Regions from separate parts of the Homo sapiens genome. Here region 2 is linked to region 1. The links are contacts of gene promoters, found by promoter capture Hi-C in human tissues and cell types (Jung and others, 2019). All regions are on one chromosome and are shown on one strand. The core of a region is centred on a gene start or on the middle of the fragment in contact, and the rest is flanking DNA. Distances in the headings are between cores, read along the strand shown. Region 1 holds the start of PLCB2 (phospholipase C beta 2). Region 2 overlaps BUB1B (BUB1 mitotic checkpoint serine/threonine kinase B).

Region 1 (5,204 bases), core at 1,523-4,022:
CTTTTGTGATCTCTTTTTTTTTTTTTTTTTTTTTACCTTAAGTTCTGGGATACATGTGCAGAATGTGTGGGTTTGTTACATAGTATACATGTGCCATGGTGGTTTGCTGCACCTGTCAACCTGTCATCTAGGTTTTAAGCCTCGCATGCATTAGGTATTTGTCCTAATGCTCTCCCTCCCCTTTCCCCCCACCCCACAACAGGCCCCTGTGATCCTTGAAGTTGTAGGCATAACAGACAGAGGTCGGACTCCTGCCCAGGAGACCAAGTGGACTACAGCGAGCTAACTGTGTGAGGCAGAGCAGGGGGTGCTGGCCTGTTGGACAAGCCTGCACCCTTGGGACAATGGATGCATGGGTATTTGCTGGGGTCCAGGGTGGGCCCATGGGAGAGTGGGGGCAAAGGGCCTAAAGCCACAGGAAGCTGAAGGTGGTAAGAAGGGGCTGAAGACATAGTTGTGAGTGACCCCTAAAATAGAAATGCTGGGGGGACTTCAAGCAACAGGTTCCCATTCGAAGGGGTGGGTCTCCCAAGAATCCTCAAAAATGTCCTCCAGAGAAAGAATCAGCTTTAAGCTTCTGCCAGGCTCAGAAAGCATGAGCCAATTTATGACAGCACCTGTTTAAATAGAACTTGGTTACCCCTTTCCCACCTCCCTCCCTATAGCTCATGCCTAGAGGGGCCTTGAGCAGGACCAGCAGGGAATCCCACCAAGGCCCTTTCCAGGGGGCCTGCAGCCTACCTGAAACCATTCCTAGAAGGAGAAGGGTAGAAGATGTCAGTGTAAATAAAGGTTGGAGTTTTGATTATAGCCAGTTTCTGACATCGGACTGGATTTTGTGATGAAAAGTGACCACTGGACTGTGTTACCTGAGAGTAAATATAATGTCTTGTGGCCTTGCAGAGTTTCTTTCCATGGCCAGGGGGAGAGCTTCTCCTACCAAATATATTGTAAAGAGGCCATGGGAGATGAAATAAAGTTGGGATTTGCTTACATCCTATGTATTCTGCTTATTCAACATGGCACAGCACACCCATGCCATCCACTAACTGTGCCAAAAGCAGCCTGAAAGCAGAGCCCTGTCTCACAGCAGCATGGACCTGTGGATAGGCTTGGGACATTCTTGCTTGTGCAGGTCAGGATCCAGAGAACATCCAATGCCCTACCTTGGAGAGGGGAAGGGAACAGCCAGGTACACAGGTGCCAGCTTAGGAAGAAGGACAGTCTCCGCTGGCCACCAACCCCCGACCTCCACTGCCACCCTGTGACCCTCTGCCCAGTCAGGTTACACACACTGCCCAGAGGAACTGAGAGAGGCCACTTCGCTTTTCATTCTGAGCCACTTCCCTCATTCCACAGGCTCCTGGGGCATGTCACCTCCATGCCACTGCCATGCTACACCAACCCCACATCACTCCTAGGGAAGCAGGAAGCATCTCACCACAGGGCCCCAACCCATAGTCATGGGCAGCGAGATCCCCTAGCCTAGCCCAGCCCCGAAGGGCCTAGACCCAGACCCCCTCATCCCACCTCCCATCAGGTGGACAAGTCAGCACTAAGGGCTGTCTTCCCTCCCCCACCAAGCCTTCATTTCCCTTCCTGGGACAAGCCCAGCACTCTAACTCTCAGACTGGGCGAGCCCAGCAGCCTCCCCTCCCTGAAGGAGAATCTCCATATTGTTCTCTCCAGCCTAAGAGAATCCCTGGCCTAAGGTAACATTTTCAGGGGCCAGGAGAACCAGAGCCTGGGAGCAGCCCCGTGTAGGAAGGAACAGACACAGCAGAGAGAGGGCTGCAGGGTGCAGCAGTGTCTTCCCCTTCCCTTGCTGACAGGCCTGCATCGGGGAGCAATGCTGAGCCCAGCAAGGGGTAGCAGAAGTCAAATCAGCTCCTTCCCTGGGAGCAGAAGCCTCTAGTTCTCACTTAGGTCCAGGGGCCTTTTGTGGCTGCCCCCACAGCAGCGCAGGGGAGAGCAAGGCTTCCCTGGACAGGATGATGCCCAGTGGAGGGGGTGAAGGAGCTGGGTCTGAGCGCCCTGCCGGAGCAAGGGCAAGACATCTGTGCTGGGAGCGGGGACGAGCTCACCTCTCCTCCTAGCCTGCCTCAGCTCTGGGGTGCACTTTCCTCCTCTTCTCTTGGGGGTTTGAAGGAGAAGAGAAGCAGACCCAAATAAACTACCTCCAGTGACCACCCAGGCAGCTCACCCACTTCTCACACCTAGAACCAAGGCTTAGCCCTTTAGCTGGGGACATACACCCTTAATCCCAGGTTTGTTTATCCAAGCAGTGGTGTCAGCTGCCTGGCCAAACCACACAGGCGCCTGGATCCTAGGAGACATAAACCAATCCTCCCACCCAAGCAAAGCCCCGTAGCAGCCCGGCCCCCACCACCTGGTGCTCCAGCAGCTGAGGCCCCTGCCCCACTTACATCATCCCATTTGATGAAGCGCTCCCCTTGGCTCAGATAGGCCTTCACCTTGGGGGGCAGCAGGACAGGGTTGAGCAGAGACATGGTGCCAAGCGTTCCTCTTTGCAGAATCTCAGCAGACACAGGCAGGCAGAAGGGCAGGAAGGAGGCCAGCCAGGAGGGGGAGCCAAGCTGGGCTCAAATGGCACCCATCCCCGAGCTGCTCCAGAAATCTAGTTGCTCTTATAGCCCCTGGGGTGGCCCTGGCTGAGTGCAGGACTGAGCTGTAGCCAGAGGCCCATCTGCCTTGTAAATCACCCTCCTCCCACCCGCCCTGCCTGCCATGGGGGCCTGTGGTCACTGCTTCTGCCCAAGGAGGCTGAAGCAGGAAGCCCCCGCCTCTTCTGGAGGCCCCCGCCCCCACCCCCAGCCCCACCCTGTGCCTCTCAGCACTTCCTGCTCTGGGCTTCCTTCTCTGCGCTGCTCACAGCGGAGACGTGGTCATGAGGCCGGGTCGCCTTGGAGCCAGGGCCTCTCAGTCCCTGTGGTGGTCTCTGGTCAGATTTGGCCCAGGAGGGCTGGAGAAGGACGACATGGAGACCAGCTGGGGAGACTGCTGCCCAGGCCTGGACTGAGGGAAGGCACAGGGAGCTCACTAGGAGAAAGGACCTCCTCAGGGGAAGGGTCCAGAGCATGGGCATCTGACCCCAAAGGTTGGGAGCACCGTAGAGGCAGGGGTGGGGTGGGGACAGGGCCCAGCTGGAATGGAGTGTTTTGAATAAGCAAAGTTTGCTGAACACACGGCTCCTCTTTCTCAATGCTTCCTCCCCCATGAAAATGAGGTGCACCTGCCGGGCGGGCGGGTGCGGTGGCTCACGCCTGTAATCCTAGCACTTTGGGAGGCCGAGGCGGGCGGATCACGAGGTCAGGAGATCGAGACCATCCTGGCTAACACGGTGAAACCCTGTCTCTACTAAAAATGCAAAAAATTAGCTGGGCGTGGCAGCGGCGCCTGTAGTCCCAGCTACTCGGGAGGCTGAGGCAGGAGAATGGCATGAACCCAGGAGGCGGAGCTTGCAATGAGCCGAGATGGCGCCACTGCACTCCAGCCTGGGCGACAGAGCAAGACTCCATCTCGAAAAAAATAAAAAAAGAAAGAAAATGAGGGGCACATGAGGCAAGGCAATCACTCCCCTCACCCACCTCACCAGACTCCCACCTCTGGGCCTCTGGGACTGCCTGAGGCCTGGACCCCCACTGAGCAGCCCTAGCCCCTGCCTCCACTGCGCTCTCCTCTCTCCTCCGTGTGCCCGCCTCTGCTGTGTACCCCAGCCTGCAGCGGGGCTGGGGCGGAGGGATGGCTGCTCTGGTTGGCCAGGCTCAGCCCCAGCTGCTCAGGTGCCTGACCCACACTCTGCCCCAGGCCCAGGGAGTTCAGCACCAGTCCAGCTCAGCCCAGCCCACTTCCTCTTGCCTAATCTGCTCCTCTTATCGCCCTTCTTAGCCCAGCCTGGGAGGCAGGGAGCTCTACCCAAGACTTCCTTCCCCTCTGGGGCCTGGCCTTTTGCCCTGGGTCACCCCCCCATGGGGCTTTGCATACCCCCAACAACGGTAAGACCCTCACCCAGGCCCTAGAATTGTCGCGGCTGGAGGTCTGGTCCAGGGCAGGGTGGAGGGTGAGGGAGGACACTCTTCATGCGGAATTAAGATAATAAACTGCCCAGTGGAGGCTGGAGCTAAGGGAATTCCCAGCACAGAAATAATCTGCAGAAGAGCAATTCTAGGGCCGGGGGATGGAGCCGGAGCAGGGCCTGACCAAGCCTCTGGAAATGGTAACAATTCAGAGGACTCTTCTTCCTCGTTTCCCCCAGTCCCTTAGCGTCATCTCTCCTCTCTCCCTCCCTCCAGTCTGGGGCCCTTCTGGGGGCCCCTCTGGCAGCCCATGCTGTTCTGGGTTCCTCCCTGGGATCAGGTTCCCTCGATATCTGTTTGAATGGATTTTGCAAGGGAAATCCCTGTCCCTTCCCAAAGCCCCTGCACCTGTCACCTGCGGCTGCCCTGGTCCCGGCACCCAAGTCCCTCCCTTTCATCTGTCCTGTAGCCATCAGCCCCCTCTCCACTTTGGGCCTGGAGAGACCAGTCCATTCCTCCCCCTCAGCCTGAGGAGGAAAGGGACAGCCTCCTCTCCTCATTTCAGGATTTCAGGGCTCCTCACTCTGTTCCTTTCCATCTCCAGCTCCGAATCCACAGAACAAAGCCTTGCCCATCTTTACTCAGTGATGTCACTGCCTGCACTGTTCTTGGGACCACAACTGTAGCTTCAGTGGGGGCCTGTACTCTCCTGCTCACATCCTGACCTCCTGCAAAGCTAGCTCCAAAAATGCAGAAAATCCAGGCAGTCAGGAGAGCGGAAAATCTTCATCAAAGAGCTTTTTGCTTTTAAAAATACATTTAGGTTTGAAAATTTGTGTTGACAAAGAAAAATGTTATGTAAATAATAGTAGAGAAAATCAGGGTAGTTACATGAATGCCCCGTTTGGGAAATGTGGCCTTGGGCTCCTGGGCTGAGCTGGGTAGAGGGCAACCCTGCAGTGGGCCAGTCTCACCCCTCCAGGGTGGGCAGTGGAAGGGCAAGGATGCCCCCTGCTGGGTGCACTCAAAGCATGCATGTCCTGGAAGTTGCGGTTGGGTCTGTCATTTGTGACCCACGGGAACACCTATGCCAGAGAGTTTGGCAAGTGGGAGCCTTGGGCCATAGAATGTGGTAAGAACTTATATTCAACCAAATGTTGCCTCCCA
Region 2 (4,876 bases), core at 1,003-3,502, 120 kb before region 1:
ATTGTGCCACTGTACTCCAGCTTGGGTGACAGAATGAGACTCCATCTCAAAAAACAAAATAAAATCTCCATCTGAAAACTATACCATCTGGGTCATTTTATGTTTGCATTTGCTTATTGTTTTTTCCTTTGAAAGTTGGTCACATTTTTCTAGTTCTTTGTGTGTCAAGTAATTCTTGTACCCTGGACATTTATCCTGACCATATGTTATAAGACTCTGATCCTGTTGGCCAATATTCCCTGGAGAATATCTATGTTTTTGTCTTAGTAGACAACCACACTTCAGATATTACAAGTTCTTTGTCATCTTGTGTGGCTGTTGGTTCCACTGTCAGTTCAGTTTTCAAGACCTTTGCTGTGTTGCTTTGGGTCTGTCCCATGCATGTCCTGCTTAAGGGTTAATCTGGGGCTTGGGCAGTGGTTTATATCATTGTTCAGTTCTCAAAGCCTTTTCTGTGCTGCTTTGAATCTACCCTGTGCATGCATAGCTCAAGAGGGAACCTAAGATGTATGCCAATTCACATACAGAATTAGGAGATCCTCTTGTTCAGCTCATTCCTTTGCAGTTCTCCTCCCATATTCTTTGGCCTTCAGAGTCCTCTTTTCCCAGTCCTCAGGCCAGAAAGATGGGGTTTCTCTGAGTTTTACATTCACATACCACCACTGCAACAGTTCAAAACCACAAGAGAAAATAGAAGAATAAAAAAACAGGAAACAATCCTGCGTGGGTTGTTTCTTCAAGTTTTGACCCCTCTCCACAGTCTGCTTGCTTTTGTTGACTTTTCAGAGCCCTCAGTTAGTTGCTTTTTTTGTATATGGTCTATAGTTTTTAATTCCTATCAGTGAGAGAAAGAGAAAAGGTACAGTGGGCATACTCCATCTTGGCCAACACCTGCAATTTATTCTGGGTTTTTTGGGGTTTTTTTTACCCTTATGATAATACTTTTTAAGGCTAGTTAAATGAAGCAGTGGTAGGAATGGAGAATCTCTTCTGATAATACTTAAAACTGTGGCAGCAGCATAGGAAGTTTACTTTTCAAACTTCTGCCAGCTTTGCTAAAGTACAATGTCATGTCATATGCAACTTCATTTCATATAGGTCAGGAGAAACCGTATATGTGTGTGCGTGCACGTGCGCGCATGCATGTGTATAGAAAAAGAGACACAGTGATAAAATAGATGTGGCACAGTGTTAACAATTGGTGGGTCAAGTTTTCTAATAAAAAGTTAGTGGGAAAACTCTAATCTTAATAAACTCTGTGATCTTAGTCTTAATAACCCTAACCTGATCCTCAGATCAACTTAATGGTGATTTTCAGAATAATTTAAATTGGTCAAACTTGGGCATTTAAAGGGAGAGTTAAATAATTCTAGCCAAAACTTTTCATGATCTTAAGGTGACTCTCTTTACTTCTGAGAGAATAAACATGTTCTTTGGGATATTTCTGCATTCTTCCCCCAGCCTGCTCTTCTAATTTGTTTACTTTAACAAATTGGAAATTTTGAGTCTGGTAAAATAGTGGTCACCTCACTAAAAGTTGTGCATTCTGCTACTTTAGACAATTCCAAGCTCGAGTGTCTCGGCAAACTCTGTTGGCACTTGAGAAAGAAGAAGAGGAGGAAGTTTTTGAGTCTTCTGTACCACAACGAAGCACACTAGCTGAACTAAAGAGCAAAGGGAAAAAGACAGCAAGAGCTCCAATCATCCGTGTAGGAGGTGCTCTCAAGGGTAAGTTTGTTAAACGTTATTTCGGAAAACTGTTAGTTTCTAGTGGTAAAATCATGTAAGAAGATAATACATAAATATACCTGTGGACACTTCTAGTTTGCTGAATACTGAGTAGCAAAAAGAAGGAAGTCAAAGGAGAGCTAATATTACAGTGTGCAGTAAAATCAAAATGCATCAGTAATTTTGTGTCTTAATTAAGAAAGACCTAACATTTAGGAAGCATCAAGATTTTCTGAGTTTGAATTGTTAGTTGAAAGAAGATATGTAGTAACATAGCAGGTGTTGTTAAAGTGAAGCTTACATATACCAAAGCCTCAGAGAATGATACTAATATGGTTAAGAACCCTGCCTTCAGAGCCCTTTGGGACCAGAAATTAGACTCTCTATATACCCAAAGATCAGCAATAATTTTTTTTAATTAACATGGACTTTTTTTTTTTTTGAGAGATAGGTTCTCGCTCTGTTGCCTGAAACGTGGTAGTGCAATCATAGCTCACCGCAGCTTCAAACTCCTAGGCTCAAGCAGTTCTTTTGCCTCAGCCTCCCAAGTAGCTAGGATTATAGGTGTGAGCCACTGCATCTGGACAACACTGACTATTTTTTAGAGTAGTTTTAGGTTCATAGCAAAATTGAGCAGAAGGTACAGAGAATAATAAGCTTTTATTTACTAAATTTATAGCAGTTAGACATGTAAACCAGGCTGTTTTTTTAATCTCTTATTTCTTTCCTGGTATCAATTTATCAATAATCAGAATGTTACTTGGTGGTTCTAGAATTAGGATATAGGGAGTGTATGGTCCCAAAGGCTATTTCATCCAGATCATGATGAAGCTTGGTTAATAACCAGCCCCACAACAGAGAAAACCCCTAATAAATGGGTTAATTTTGTATTCTCTAGTTCCAGTATATCTCTGCTGATTTCCATTGAGAGAAAATTTAAAACTGAAGAATAAAACTTAGGTTAGTTTCTGATAAAACTAGATAATGTTATAATGATGACTGAAGGAAGATGCAGAATGTCTTTTTTGGAAATTTGTGAATAAAAGATGTGGGGTGACTGGAGGAGGGAAAAGAAGGCAGAATATAAGTAACAAAGAATGGATAAAACGATTCTATTTTTGATTTATTAATTTTTTTAAAGATTATTTTTAAAATTTCTTTTTTTTTTTCTGTTGTAGTGGAAATACTGTCCTTGAGTTGAGGAAGAATAGGTATACTTTATCTGGCATCTAAGTTAATAATGAAACATTTTACATGAGGTTTTAATATTTTTGCTCCTAGCTCCAAGCCAGAACAGAGGACTCCAAAATCCATTTCCTCAACAGATGCAAAATAATAGTAGAATTACTGTTTTTGATGAAAATGCTGATGAGGCTTCTACAGCAGAGTTGTCTAAGCCTACAGTCCAGCCATGGATAGCACCCCCCATGCCCAGGGCCAAAGAGAATGAGCTGCAAGCAGGCCCTTGGAACACAGGCAGGTCCTTGGAACACAGGGTAAGGACTCTTAGATCCAGTGCTTTGCTGACACAACAAAGACTTCACATTTAGGGTAGAGAAGTATTTTTACCATCTCTTTTAATTCCTCTTGAATATTTAGCCATGGTCTATATATGCTGTCTGAGAACATAAAACTATGGTAATTTTAGTTTTCTTCTTCATCTCCAGCCTCGTGGCAATACAGCTTCACTGATAGCTGTACCCGCTGTGCTTCCCAGTTTCACTCCATATGTGGAAGAGACTGCACGACAGCCAGTTATGTGAGTGTGGTTTTTGGATATTTTGAAGTGGGAATTATTAAGGGTGGGCAGAGGCACCTATTCTACTTCCCAAAGGCAGTTTCTTCTTTATGAAGATGAAAGTAACCAGGCCAGGCGCAGTAGCTCACACCTGTAATCCCAGCACAGGCTGAGGCAGGAGGATCCCTTGAGCCTAGGTGTTCAAGACCAGCCTGGGCAGCCTAGTGAGACCCTGTCTCTATTTATTAAAAAAAAAAGTAACCAGACAAAATTTTGTATATCCTTTATGTTTGTATTCCTTTGAGTATGTTAGGGTTAAAAGACCATTTGTTAATATTTTATTAAGGAATAAACATTAATTAGGTTTATATTTTCATTACTGAACATTGCTTTAGGAAAATCAATGGTGGCTATTCTGGAAGATGGATTGAACATACATAAATAAGCTATTGGAATAGTTCAGGCAAGGATATTAAGGGGCGGTATTTGGGCAGGGTAGTGGTAATGAAAGGAGAAGGGAGCTTGGATGGGAGAGGCTTCAGCAGTAGAGTTAGAAGATTTGTCTGATGGGATAATGGGGATGTAGGGAAAAGATAATGTGATTTAAATGAGACGTTCTCATTTTGTCATTGATAGTAATGAGAAATTATGATAGTTTTCCCTCTTATCCTGCTTTTTCCTTCTGGACATATTTTTCCTCTTTCTTCCTAATCCTTAGCATTTCTGTTTTTAAGAAAAAGTATAGTAGCTGGTGGTTAAATAAACAAGCCAGCCTGAGATTTAGTCTAATGCTTAACATTGCCTAGTTCTTTTTTTTTTTTTTTTTTTTTTTTTGAGATGGAGTCTCGCTGTGTCGCCCAGGCTGGAGTGTGGAGTGCAGTGGTGCGATCTGGGCTCACTGGAAGCTCTGCCTCCCAGGTTCACGCCATTCTCCTGCCTTAGCCTCCCAAGTAGCTGGAACTACAGGCATCTGCCACCACGCCCAGCTAATTTTTTTTTTTTTTTAGTGGACACGGGGTTTCACCGTGTTAGCCAGGATGGTCTCGATCTCCTGACCTAGTGATCCGCCCGCCTTGGCCTCCCAAAGTGCTGGAATTACAGGCGTGAGCCACTGCGCCCAGCCCTAGTCCTAATACTAGGTTGAATTCTGTCCCAGTGCAAGAGTTACCTCATAACTAATTTATAACTCCCACTACATGCTAGGAATGCAAAAATAATAATTAAGATTTTGAGCAAAAATTCTGCCTAAGTGCTCAGGACAAGGGGAAGGCTATTTTTTTTCTTTTTTTTTTTTTCTTTTTAAACAGAGTCTTGCTCTGTTGCCCAGCAGGCTGAAGTGCAGTGGCACCATCTCAGCTCACCGCAACCTCGACCTCCTGGTTCAACGGGCATGGCAGCCCACGTTTGCCA

What was found. Contacts are between HindIII fragments. The study calls those that stand out against the background at their distance.
Region 2: a fragment that was not itself captured here is called in contact with the fragment with the promoter of PLCB2 in region 1 in 2 of the 25 tissues and cell types used here (lymphoblastoid cells and thymus).

The regions. Positions count from the first base shown.
Region 1 is chr15:40,305,163-40,310,366 of GRCh38, forward strand. It overlaps PLCB2 (phospholipase C beta 2), which reads right to left and starts at 2,773. Exons shown (of 32, transcript NM_004573.3): 1 at 2,427-2,773. The coding sequence starts at 2,510. LOC112268152 (a long non-coding RNA gene) reads right to left here. Exons shown (of 3, transcript XR_002957721.2): 3 at 4,875-5,204. RefSeq lists a silencer at 4,903-5,106. The HindIII fragment of the contact is 11,638 bases long and covers 1-5,204 here.
Region 2 is chr15:40,182,156-40,187,031 of GRCh38, forward strand. BUB1B (BUB1 mitotic checkpoint serine/threonine kinase B) reads left to right here. Exons shown (of 23, transcript NM_001211.6): 6 at 1,559-1,728; 7 at 3,010-3,224; 8 at 3,396-3,487. All of the region lies in intron 1 of LOC107984763 (a long non-coding RNA gene), which reads right to left. Among named protein-coding and RNA genes, the nearest start is that of BUB1B, 24 kb to the left of the region's middle. The HindIII fragment of the contact is 4,788 bases long and covers 1-4,646 here.